Regions from separate parts of the Homo sapiens genome. Here region 2 is linked to region 1. Evidence: promoter capture Hi-C in human tissues and cell types (Jung and others, 2019). All regions are on one chromosome and are shown on one strand. Each heading gives the region's core, a stretch centred on a gene start or on the middle of the fragment in contact. The rest is flanking DNA. Distances are from core to core; before and after follow the strand shown.

The links. The method cuts DNA at HindIII sites, captures the fragments that hold promoters and counts their contacts. A contact is called where the count stands out against the background at its distance.
Region 2: a contact is called between a fragment that was not itself captured here and the fragment with the promoter of ESCO1 in region 1, in 1 of the 25 tissues and cell types used here (heart left ventricle).

Annotation. Positions count from the first base shown.
Region 1 is chr18:21,598,357-21,603,444 of GRCh38, forward strand. It overlaps ESCO1 (establishment of sister chromatid cohesion N-acetyltransferase 1), which reads right to left and starts at 2,348. Exons shown (of 12, transcript NM_052911.3): 1 at 2,267-2,348. RefSeq lists enhancers at 692-986, 2,054-2,573, 3,898-3,977. The HindIII fragment of the contact is 11,871 bases long and covers 1-5,088 here.
Region 2 is chr18:22,375,265-22,380,352 of GRCh38, forward strand. No RefSeq gene overlaps it. Among named protein-coding and RNA genes, the nearest start is that of CTAGE1, 40 kb to the right of the region's middle. The HindIII fragment of the contact is 4,698 bases long and covers 506-5,088 here.

The DNA of each region.
Region 1 (5,088 bases), core at 1,098-3,597:
GCATAATTTATCAATTTAAATGCCAGCACCTTGTATGGGACGGACATTAAAAAAATTACTTGGCCGGGCATGGTGGCTCACGCCTGTAATCCCAGCACTTTGGGAGGCCGAGGCAGGCGGATCACCTGAGGTCAGGAGTTCAAGACCAGCCTGGCCAACACGGTGAAACCCTATCTCTACTAAAAATACAAAAAAATTAGCCGGGCATGGTGGCACTTGTCTGTAATCCCAGCTACTCGGGAGGCCGAGGCAGGAGAATCACTTGAACCCAGGAGGCGGAGATTGCAGTGAGCCGAGATCTCGCCACTGCCCTCCAGCCCGGACGACAGAGTGAGACTCCATCTCAAAAAAAAAAAACAAACAATTACTTGTTCACTACAGGATTATAATATTGATTGAGAAAGGTGAGACAATAGCATATTTTCCTCAGTTAGCAATGATAAAGGAGTTCTAGCTCGTAAGCCAGGACAAATTTTGGAATTGTGCTTCCAAAGTCACATATCTGACCCAACAGTGATACTCTGCATTCTGCCTAAAAGGGAAAAAGTGGCTCTATTACAGTCCTAGTTTCCTCATTTCCTCACATGCTCTAGGCCTGAATTTGCGACTTCCAAATTAAGCACGTTTTAAAGCACTTCTCATCCTACTCCCATGTCTAATTCCATTGATTAGATTTTTTGCTTTTCAAAAAAAAAAAAAAATTCACCAGGCACAGTGGCTCAGGCCTGTAATCCCAGCACTTTTGGAGGCCCAGGTGATCACTTGATCCCAGGAGTTCGAGACCAGCCTGGGCAACATGGCGAAACGCCGTCTCAACAACAAATAGAAAACTTAGCCTAACATGGTAGCGGACGCCTGTAGTCTCAGCCACTCAGGGAGGCGGAGGTGGGAGGATTGCTTGGGGCCGGGGAGGGAGGTCAAGGCTGCAGTGAACAGTGATTACACCACTGCAATCCAGTCTGGGCGACAGAGCGAGACCCCGTCTCAAAATAAAATAATAACTTAAAACTTTATTCGTGTTGGTGTCCTGTGTAAAGCAGAAACTAAGTACTTGACCAGAAGACAAAGTGAATATAGCATAGTTCACTGCAACCTGGATGTTTTCAACTGAAATCTATGTTTTATCCACTTTTTTAAAAAAGCCAATGCTGGTGGGGGGACTAACCACACCTTATGCCACCAAGTAGCGCTTTTGTTTCCTGCGAAGCTTATTTATTGAGATATCGTTTTGTAATACTATCTAGATACTGTGTGCTGCGATTCCTGTTTAAAGGAATCTCATTGCAGCTAAGACTACAGAAAACATGGTTCATAGTACTTCTCAAATCGCAAAGCTTGAGCTCCTTCCTCCTCCTCTTCCTCCCTCCCCTGGTCCCCGCTGCGTCCCCATCGCCCCGGAAAATAAAGCACACGCCGGATTTTCGGACGCATCATTGAGAGGCGGAGGGAGAGGAGGTAGTCTTCGAATTGTTGGACTTGCTATCCCATTCTGCCTGTGCAAAATAAACCCCCATAGTAAAATAATCTTAACCCGTGATAAAAATCGAGGACCCAATTCTCTTTGGTTCGCCTCTCTCCATCGCTATAAACTTCACTGCGGCCCTCAATGCACTCATTTCTACTCCAGAGCCGCCCTACCTGTGCCGAGACCCCCATTTGCAGCATGAGTTACTCTATGACCTTGGGCCCGCTCCCCTCCCAAACTGAAGGCTGTAAAACCAAGACCCCACATCGCGCCCCGCAAACTGCAGAGGCCTCCAGGCTCAGGCCGGGTCAGCGGGTTGCGCCAGGAGGCGGCGAGGGACTGGCTCCGGTGAAGCGCCGGGAAGAGAAAACGCAGGGGGCGGAGACGGGGCCCGGAGCTACCTGCGGGACCAGCACTGGCGCTGCCCCGGTGCTAGCAATGGCTGCGCGCCACCTCGGGGCTCCCGGAGCCCTCGCGGCAGTGCTGGGAACTCCGGCCCTGCCCCGTCGGCGGTCACGACCCCTTATGAACTTCGACCGCCCAGCAAACAGCGGCAGGTGGTGCGCGGACACGCGAGCACGTTAGCTGCCTACCTCAAGCGACGGCGTCTTGGAGCCTAGAGCCTCCCACCTCCCTCCCAGGGGCGCGAAGAGCTGGGACCGGAGCAGTAGGAAGGGGCGTGCGAGGCAACACGCCACCGAGGGTGGAACAGGAAGAGGGAGAACTGTCCGCTCCCTGAAGGGGCTGGCAAAAGAGAGGTGAAGACACAGGCGGCGGGGACCGTCAGGGACGCTCGCGTACCTTCCTTTTGCCTGGCGGAGGGTCAGACTAGCGCCAGCGGATCGCCTCACATCCGGGTATCAGGAGACACTCAGCTGCTTCTGCTGCGGCCGCCGCCTCCCCCGCGGCGCAAACACCAAACTTCCGGCGACGACGGCGACGCCTCGCTCGTCAGATGGGAGTTACCTGTGACCGTCTTGGGTGCGCTTGCGCAACGCTCCTCTTCAGCCCTAACCGGCTCAGCTGACGTGCCCAGAAGACGAAGATGGCCGCCACGCTCACTGCGTGTCACGCAGTTTTTCACCCCGGCCCGGACGGCTGGGCGTCGAGGAAAGGCGAGCTAGTGTCCATCCTCAGCGCAGGCGCGGTGGGAGGCCTAGCGCGCGCGCCTCCGCGGGTGGTCGCCTGGCAGGGAAGTGGCGGCGCCCCCTAGCGGCGGCCGCTTGTCGTTCCTGGGGTCATCGCTTTGAGCTGAAAACCACCCAGGCCCCCAGCGGTTGTGGTTTACCTTGGAAATTTGTCGCAACTGGTTGCCATGTAGGTTTTGGCTGCTTCTGTCTGCGATGTATAATCCAAGTGCCTTTGGTCTTCCATATGAGCCAATGTAAAGAAGGAGGGTGGGGCCGGGCGCGGTGGTTCACGCCTGTAATCCCAGCACTTTGGGAAGCAGAGGCGGGTGGATCATTTGAGGTTAGGAGTTCGAGACCAGCCTGGCCAACATGGCCAACATGGTGAAACCCCGTCTCTACTAGAAATACAAAAATTAGCCGGGTGGTAGTGGCGTGCGACTGTAATCCCAGCTACTCGAGAGGCTGAGGCGGGAGAATCCCTTGAGCCTGGGAGGCGGAGGTTGTGGTGAGCTGAGACTGGGCCACTGCACTCTAGTCTGGACGAGTGAGACCCTGTCTCAAATAAAAAAAAAAGGAGGGTGCAGTCCCTACACTGCCCTCCAGCACCTCCAAAAAATGCAGGGCTTCGCCCTCTCCTTGCACACTTTCTTCCTGTGTATCAGAGTGCAAGAATCATCAGAAATTGTAAAATATTCTGCTAGACTTAGTCAGACTGAGTGTTCAGACAAAGCTTTGGCTCGCTCTTGGACGCCTCTAGAGATAGAATCCAAGATTCTATCACTAGGATTCATGGTTCCCACACTTCTTTCTTTTGTGACAGGAAGGATCTTGCTGTGTAGCCCTGGCTGGTGTGCAGTGGCACAGTAACGGCTCACTGCAGCCTCGACTTGGGCTCAAGCGATCCCACCTGCCTCAGCCTCCCTGAGAACTGCATGTATGAAGCCCACGACACCATGCCAGGCTAATTTTTTTTTTTTTTTTTGAGATGGAGTCTCACTCTTGTCACCCAGGCTAGAGTGCAATGGCACGATCTCGGCTCACTGCAACCTCCGCCTCCCAGGTTCAAGGAATTCTCCTGCCTCAGCCTCCTGAGTAGCTGGGACTACAGGTGCCTGCCACCATGCCCGGCTAATTTTTTATTTTTAGTAGAGACGGGGTTTCACCATCTTGGCCAGGCTGGTCTCGAACTTCTGACCTTGTGATCCCACCTGCCTCGGCCTCCCAAAGTGCTGGGATTACAGGCGTAAGCCACCGCGCCCGGCCGCCAGGCTAATTTTTTTATATTTTGTAGGGATAAGGTCTCACTGAGACCAGCCCAGGCTGATCTCGAACTCCTGGCCTCAAGTGATCCTCTCTTCTCTCCTTGGCTTCCCAAAGCGCTGGGACTACAGGCCTAAGCCACTGCTCCGGCTACTAGACTGCTTTTGAACATATGTTCTGTGCTACCCTTTGCTTATTTGCGGAACTGTGAGGCTAGTTCGGTACTTCTGCATTTCAGAATGGGAAGAGGTGATCATAAATGGGTTTTCCCCTTCCTGCCCTCCTTCTTTGAAGCCAAGTACAACCAAAATGTGCTCTAAGTTTGTCAAACCTGATGTTTTTCTGACAATTCATCTTCCACGAATAGTGAGCTGCCTGTCAGTTTGCGCAGGGAGATGTTATGGCTTAAAAACAAAAACGAGGCTGGGCGCAGTGGCTCACGTTTGTAATCCCAGCTGTTTGGGAGGTATTGATGGGTGAGGCCATTCTTCACATTACCATAGTTGTGTTACTTGGCAAAGACCTGTCCGCTGCTTCCACCTTCAGCTCCAGTCCCTGATACACACTTTAATGACATATGCCAAACAGCTCAAATTGGGGGCGGGGGGTGGGGCGGGGGAACAGGAGTAAACTACTGGTCTGGTTAAAAGCTGGTTATTTATCAGGAGACCTGACCTATGTTTCCCTTCATCTTCGTCTTCTGATTGCCAGACAACTGGTGGGACTTCTTTTGGTTGGATAAACTACTTTGTCTATAGTAATTCAAATTCTGGCATACAAAGAAACCATATTTATGAGTGTCGATTCTCACAAAATAGGCCTCTGCTTCTGAGTAGTCTATTCCACTCTATGTGCTAAATTGGCCTCAATCAGGAGCATAGGAATTCGTGCAAATATCAGACCATATGAAATCATAGCCCTCCGGCCAGGAGCCTAGGCCATAGCAGCTTGTTGCTCTGCTGACCCTGGTGTCTGATCCCAGCCAGTGGCCTTAAAAAAACAAGAAACGAAATAAATCATGTATTTTCGATACATAATTCATGCCTGCAATTTATGCTGTATTTTCTTTTTTTTTTTTTTTTTTTTGAGACAGAGTCTTGCTCTGTTGCCCAGGTTGGAGTGTTGTGGCGTGATCTTGGCTCACTGCAACCTCCGTCTCCCTGGTTCAAGCAATTCTGCCTCAGCCTCCAAATTAGCTGGGATTACAGGTGCCCGCCATGACGCTCAGCTAAT
Region 2 (5,088 bases), core at 1,605-4,104, 780 kb after region 1:
ATGATTCAATAAATAGAGACTTTCAATGAGACAGAAACTGTAAAAATGAATTAAATGGAAATTCAGAATTGAGAAGTACAATAACTGAAAGTAAAATTAATTAGAAGGGGTCAACAGCAGAATTGAGATGGCAGAAGAAAGAATCAGTGGATTAAAAAACTGGATAAAAAGTCGTATCTAACTATATGCTGTGTATAAGAGACACACATTAGGTTCAAAGATACAAATAGGTTGAAAATAAGAGGATAGAAGAAACATACACCATGAAAGAGTAACCATTAAGAGTTTTCACCTTAAGAAACCAGAAAAGAAAGAGCAAACTGGTCCAATGCAGGCACCAGAAAGGAAATAAGAGACTAAAACCAAAATCAATGAAACAGAAAAAGGAAAAACAATAGAGAACCAAAGTAACAAAACTGTTTCTCAAAAAAAATTTTTAAATGAAAAAGGAAATACTTTCAGCTAAACTGATCAAGAAAAAGAGAAGACTACAAGTTTCCAAAATCAGGAGTGAAAGAGGTGCCTTTCTACTGACCCTATAGAAGTTAAAATTGTATGAAAATATTAAGAACAACTTTATGTAAATAAATTTAACAACATAGATGAAATGGACCAATTCCCTGAAAGACCCAAACTACCAAAGCTCACTCAAGAAGAAATAGATAACCTCACTAGTACTTATCTGTTAAAGAAATTGTAGTTAAAAACTTTCCAACAAAGAAAACCTTATGGTTTCACTGGTGATTATTTTAAAAAGAAATAATATCAGTTCTACACAATGTCTTCAGAAAAGTAAAAGAGGATGCTCATCTTATGAGGCTAGAATTATTCTAATATCAAAACCAGACAATGATACAGCAGGAGAGACAGCTGCAGACCAATATCCCTCATAAGCATAAATACAAAAATTCTCAAAATATTAAAAAATTAAATCTAGTAATGTATATAAAAACTTTTTGGCTAAGTAGGGTTTATTTCAGGAATGAAGTCTGGTTCACATTTGAAAGTCAATCGGTGCAAATACCCTATTAACCTACTAAAGAAGAAAAACATATAATCATGTTAGTAGATGCAGAAAAGCATTTGACAAAGTTCAACATCTATTTGTATTTTAAACTTTCAACAAACTAGAAATAGAGGAATTTTTTTAATCTGATGAATGGCATTAACAAAAACCCTGCAACTAACATACTTAATAGTGAAAGACAGAATGCTTTCCCCCTAAGATCAGGAATAAGGCAATATCATGCTGGCAGTCCCAGCCATAGTATAGTAAGGGGAAAAATGCATTTACAATGGAAAGAAAAAAAATAAAACTGCCTCTGTTCACAGATGGCATGATTGTCTACATAGAAAATCCCAATGAATCTTCTAGAAAACTGGAATTAATGAGTTTAGCAATGTTGCAAGATACATGGTAAATATAAAAACCTCATATATGTATGTACTAACAATAAACAATGTCAAATAGAAATTACAAAGAAAGGATCAATTACAATAGCTCCAAAAAAATCAAAAAATGAAATAGTTGTGAATCTAGCAAAGTACATGTAGGTTGGTATGCTGAAGATGACAAAATGCTAATGAAAAAAATCAACAAAGATGGAAATAAATGAAAAAATATACTCTGTTCATGGGTTGAAAAACTCAGTCTTATTAACATGTTCATCCTCCCCATATTGATATAGATTCAATGCAATCCCAAGTAAAATAGCAGGATTTTTATAGCTGATCCTAACATTTTTATGGAAAGGCAGAGGAATTACAACAGCCAGAATGGTTTTGAAAAAGAACAAAGTTAGAAGACTCACACTACCTGAACTGAAGACTTACTATAACATCATAATCATCAAGACAGTGTGGTATGGGCAAAAGGATAAACACATAGATAAATGGAACAGATAGAGAGTGCAGAAATAGAACCACATAAATATGATCAGTTGATTTTGACAAAGATGGAAAGCAATCCAATGGAGAAAGGATTGTCTTTTCAACAAACGGTGTTGGACTAATAGGACGTCCGTTTACAAAATAAGAACCTAGACCTAAACCTCATACCTTTTAAAAATTAAAATGCGTCAGAGAACTAAACATAAAAAATCCATAAAATTATTAAAAGAAAAAAGGGAAGAAAATCTTTGTGATCTTGAGTTCAGTGAAAGCTTTCTCTCAGATATAATACTAAAAATATGATCAATTAAAAAATTGATAAGTGAACTTCATAAAAATTGAAATCTCTTGCTCTGAGCAAATAACTGCTAAAAGAATAAAAAAACAAGCTGTACACTGAGTGAAAATATTTGAAAATCACATCTCTGATAAGAAGCTTATGTCTAGAATATATGAAGAGCTCTCAAACCTCAATAAGAAAGAAAGAAACTCAATTATATAATTGGCAAAAAATGTTAACACTTCACCAAACAAGACATATATGTGACAAATAAGTATGTGGAAGGAAGCTCAATATTATTCATTAGGAAAATGCAAATGAAAACCATAAAAGATACCACTGCATACATATTAGAGTGGTTAAAAAACAATCAAATAAGCCTGGCAGTACCAAGTGCCGGTGAACATTCAGGGCAACTGGAATTTTCATATATTGCAGGTAGGACTGCCAAAGAACAGCCACCATTTTTGAAAAACAGTTTGGCAATTTCTTATAAAATTACATATGCATTTTCCATATGACTCAGCAATTCTACTCTTAAATGTTTAACCTAAAGAAATGAAAACTTATGTTTTCACAAAAACCTGTACATGAATATTTATAGCAGTACTATCTGTAATCACCAAAAACTGAAAACAAGTTAAATGCCTTATAACAGGTGAATGGATAAACAAATTTTGATACATCCATACTCAGCAATAAAAATAATCAACTATTGATACATGCAACAACATGAATGAATCTCAAATGCATTATGCCACGTTAAAGAAGCCAGACTCAGAAGGAAGTTTCCACATGTATGACTTTCTCGAAAAGGTTAAACTATAGAGATGGAAAAACCTATGTGAGTTCTAGGTAAGATAATTCATGTCTCTGATTGCCTAGGATGGTCCTAACTTATCTCTACTATCCTGCCTTTACATGTAGTTTGTAATTTTCCTGAGTTTTAATGTTTTTATTTTTATTTATTTATTTGTTTGTTTAAAGATGGGGTCTCAGTATGTTGCCCAGGCTGGTCTCAAACTCCCAGCCTCAAGCGATCCTTCCAGCTCAGCCTCTCAAGTAGCTGGGATTACAGGTGAGCATCACTGTACCCAGACTGACTTTTTATTTTAAATAAAGTATTTTTATTATTAATTGAGTTAAATGAAGCCAAGTATTTGGTAAACCTGTTGATTAGAAGAACTTCTTCCAAGGCTGTATAGCAGTGATTGGAATTCTCACTTTCATATGTTAGTAATTTTGAAAAAGGACCAGAAATAATCCCACTCTCTTCTCCTGGGTTTCTTTTCCCATTCTTTCTAGATGGAATATAACTAGCATCTCCCTTTCAAGGATAGCACGCAGGGCATTCAGTGATAAAACTAAGTGCAGTGGGGTATGAGCAGCTCAGAACAGCTCATTCCTTCAGATCTAGGGAGGTATTTGATGTGACTGCCCCTGCTGGTCACTTGGTGTGCCATCTAGTTGTGCCATGGCTCCAGCTGCAGTTTATGAGATGTGCAAAGCTGGTAGACCATTAGTCTGCACCATCCAATGGAAATAAAGCAGATTTTAGGTTATGTGTGTGTAAAAAATGTGGGGGAAATAGGATCTGAGCAGTCGGTCTGTAGGGCATAGTCCAAATGCTCTTGTTAGAGTAATCTTGTTACTTACTGTATGGGGGGCATCACAAATATTGCTTTATTTTTATTTGTTAATATTTCTCTAAAATTTTACATTAAATGCTTTCAGCAGCAAGGAGGTTAAAAATTAAGTGCATGATTAATAAAAAATTAAGTGCTGAGTTTCTATTTCTTAAGAAAGTTGATGTTGAAAGGTTAAGTGACACAAACTACTGGTTGGCATTCAAAGTGCTACAGTGGTAACATTGTCAAAACTGCTGAAGAAATGTTACCATCTGCTTCCAAGTTAGTAGTTAAGTAGTGTAGTGGGTTGAATGGTAGTCCACCCAAAATGTATGTATACTCAGAACCTGTGAAAGTGACCTAATTTTTAAAAAGAGGTCTTACCTGCAGATGTAATTAAGGATCTCAAGATGAAATCATTCTGGATGATCCAGGTGAGCCCTAAATCCTATGACAAGTGTCATTCTAAGACAGAGAAGAGGAGACAGAGACATGGAGGAGAAGGCCATATGAAGATGAAGATGGAGATGGAGTGCTGTGGCCACAAGCAAAGCTGACAGCCACCAGAAGCTGGAAGGAGCAAGGAGCGATTGTCACCCAGAGCCTTCAGTGGGAGTGTGGCCCTGTGGACACTTTGATTTTGGACTTCTGGCCTCCAGAACTGTAAGAATAAATTCTGTTCTTTTAAGCCACCATGTTTGTAGCAATTGGTTATGCAAACTTAAAAGACAAATAACAAGTAGTCTCAATGATTCAACACATGAACCTACAGCAGGAAGGTTACATATTACCCCGTGAAGCATAATTTCTCACTTTGACTACGTATCTGTTTTTCTAAATCCACTTAATCCTTTTCATTCTAAATTTTCTTTGTATGTAAGAAAATGAAGCTGTACTCTAAATGAATTGTCTCCATTTGCAGGAAAAGAACTTTGCACACAGTTAAATGATGCCAGATTTTCATCACTGTCATCAGATGCGTTATAAAGAAAATTAGTTAATTTCAGTAATGTCTGGATTTATTTTATCCAATTCACGGAATTAATCTCATTCATGGAAGCTCCCCGTCACAGTGGGGACATCTGACATTATTTCAAATGCTACTGTAAAATAAGACAACAAGTCCAACATTGAAGAGAGATATATATATGTATATATATATTTTTTTTTTGCAGAGTTGATACAAATATAAATATACACATTTTGTCAGTGGTGATGGAGCGGGGTGGGTGGGGAGGTTGCTGAGCAGTGCGTTGATGTTCAACAGGTTTCACAGCCACCTCCAAAGCA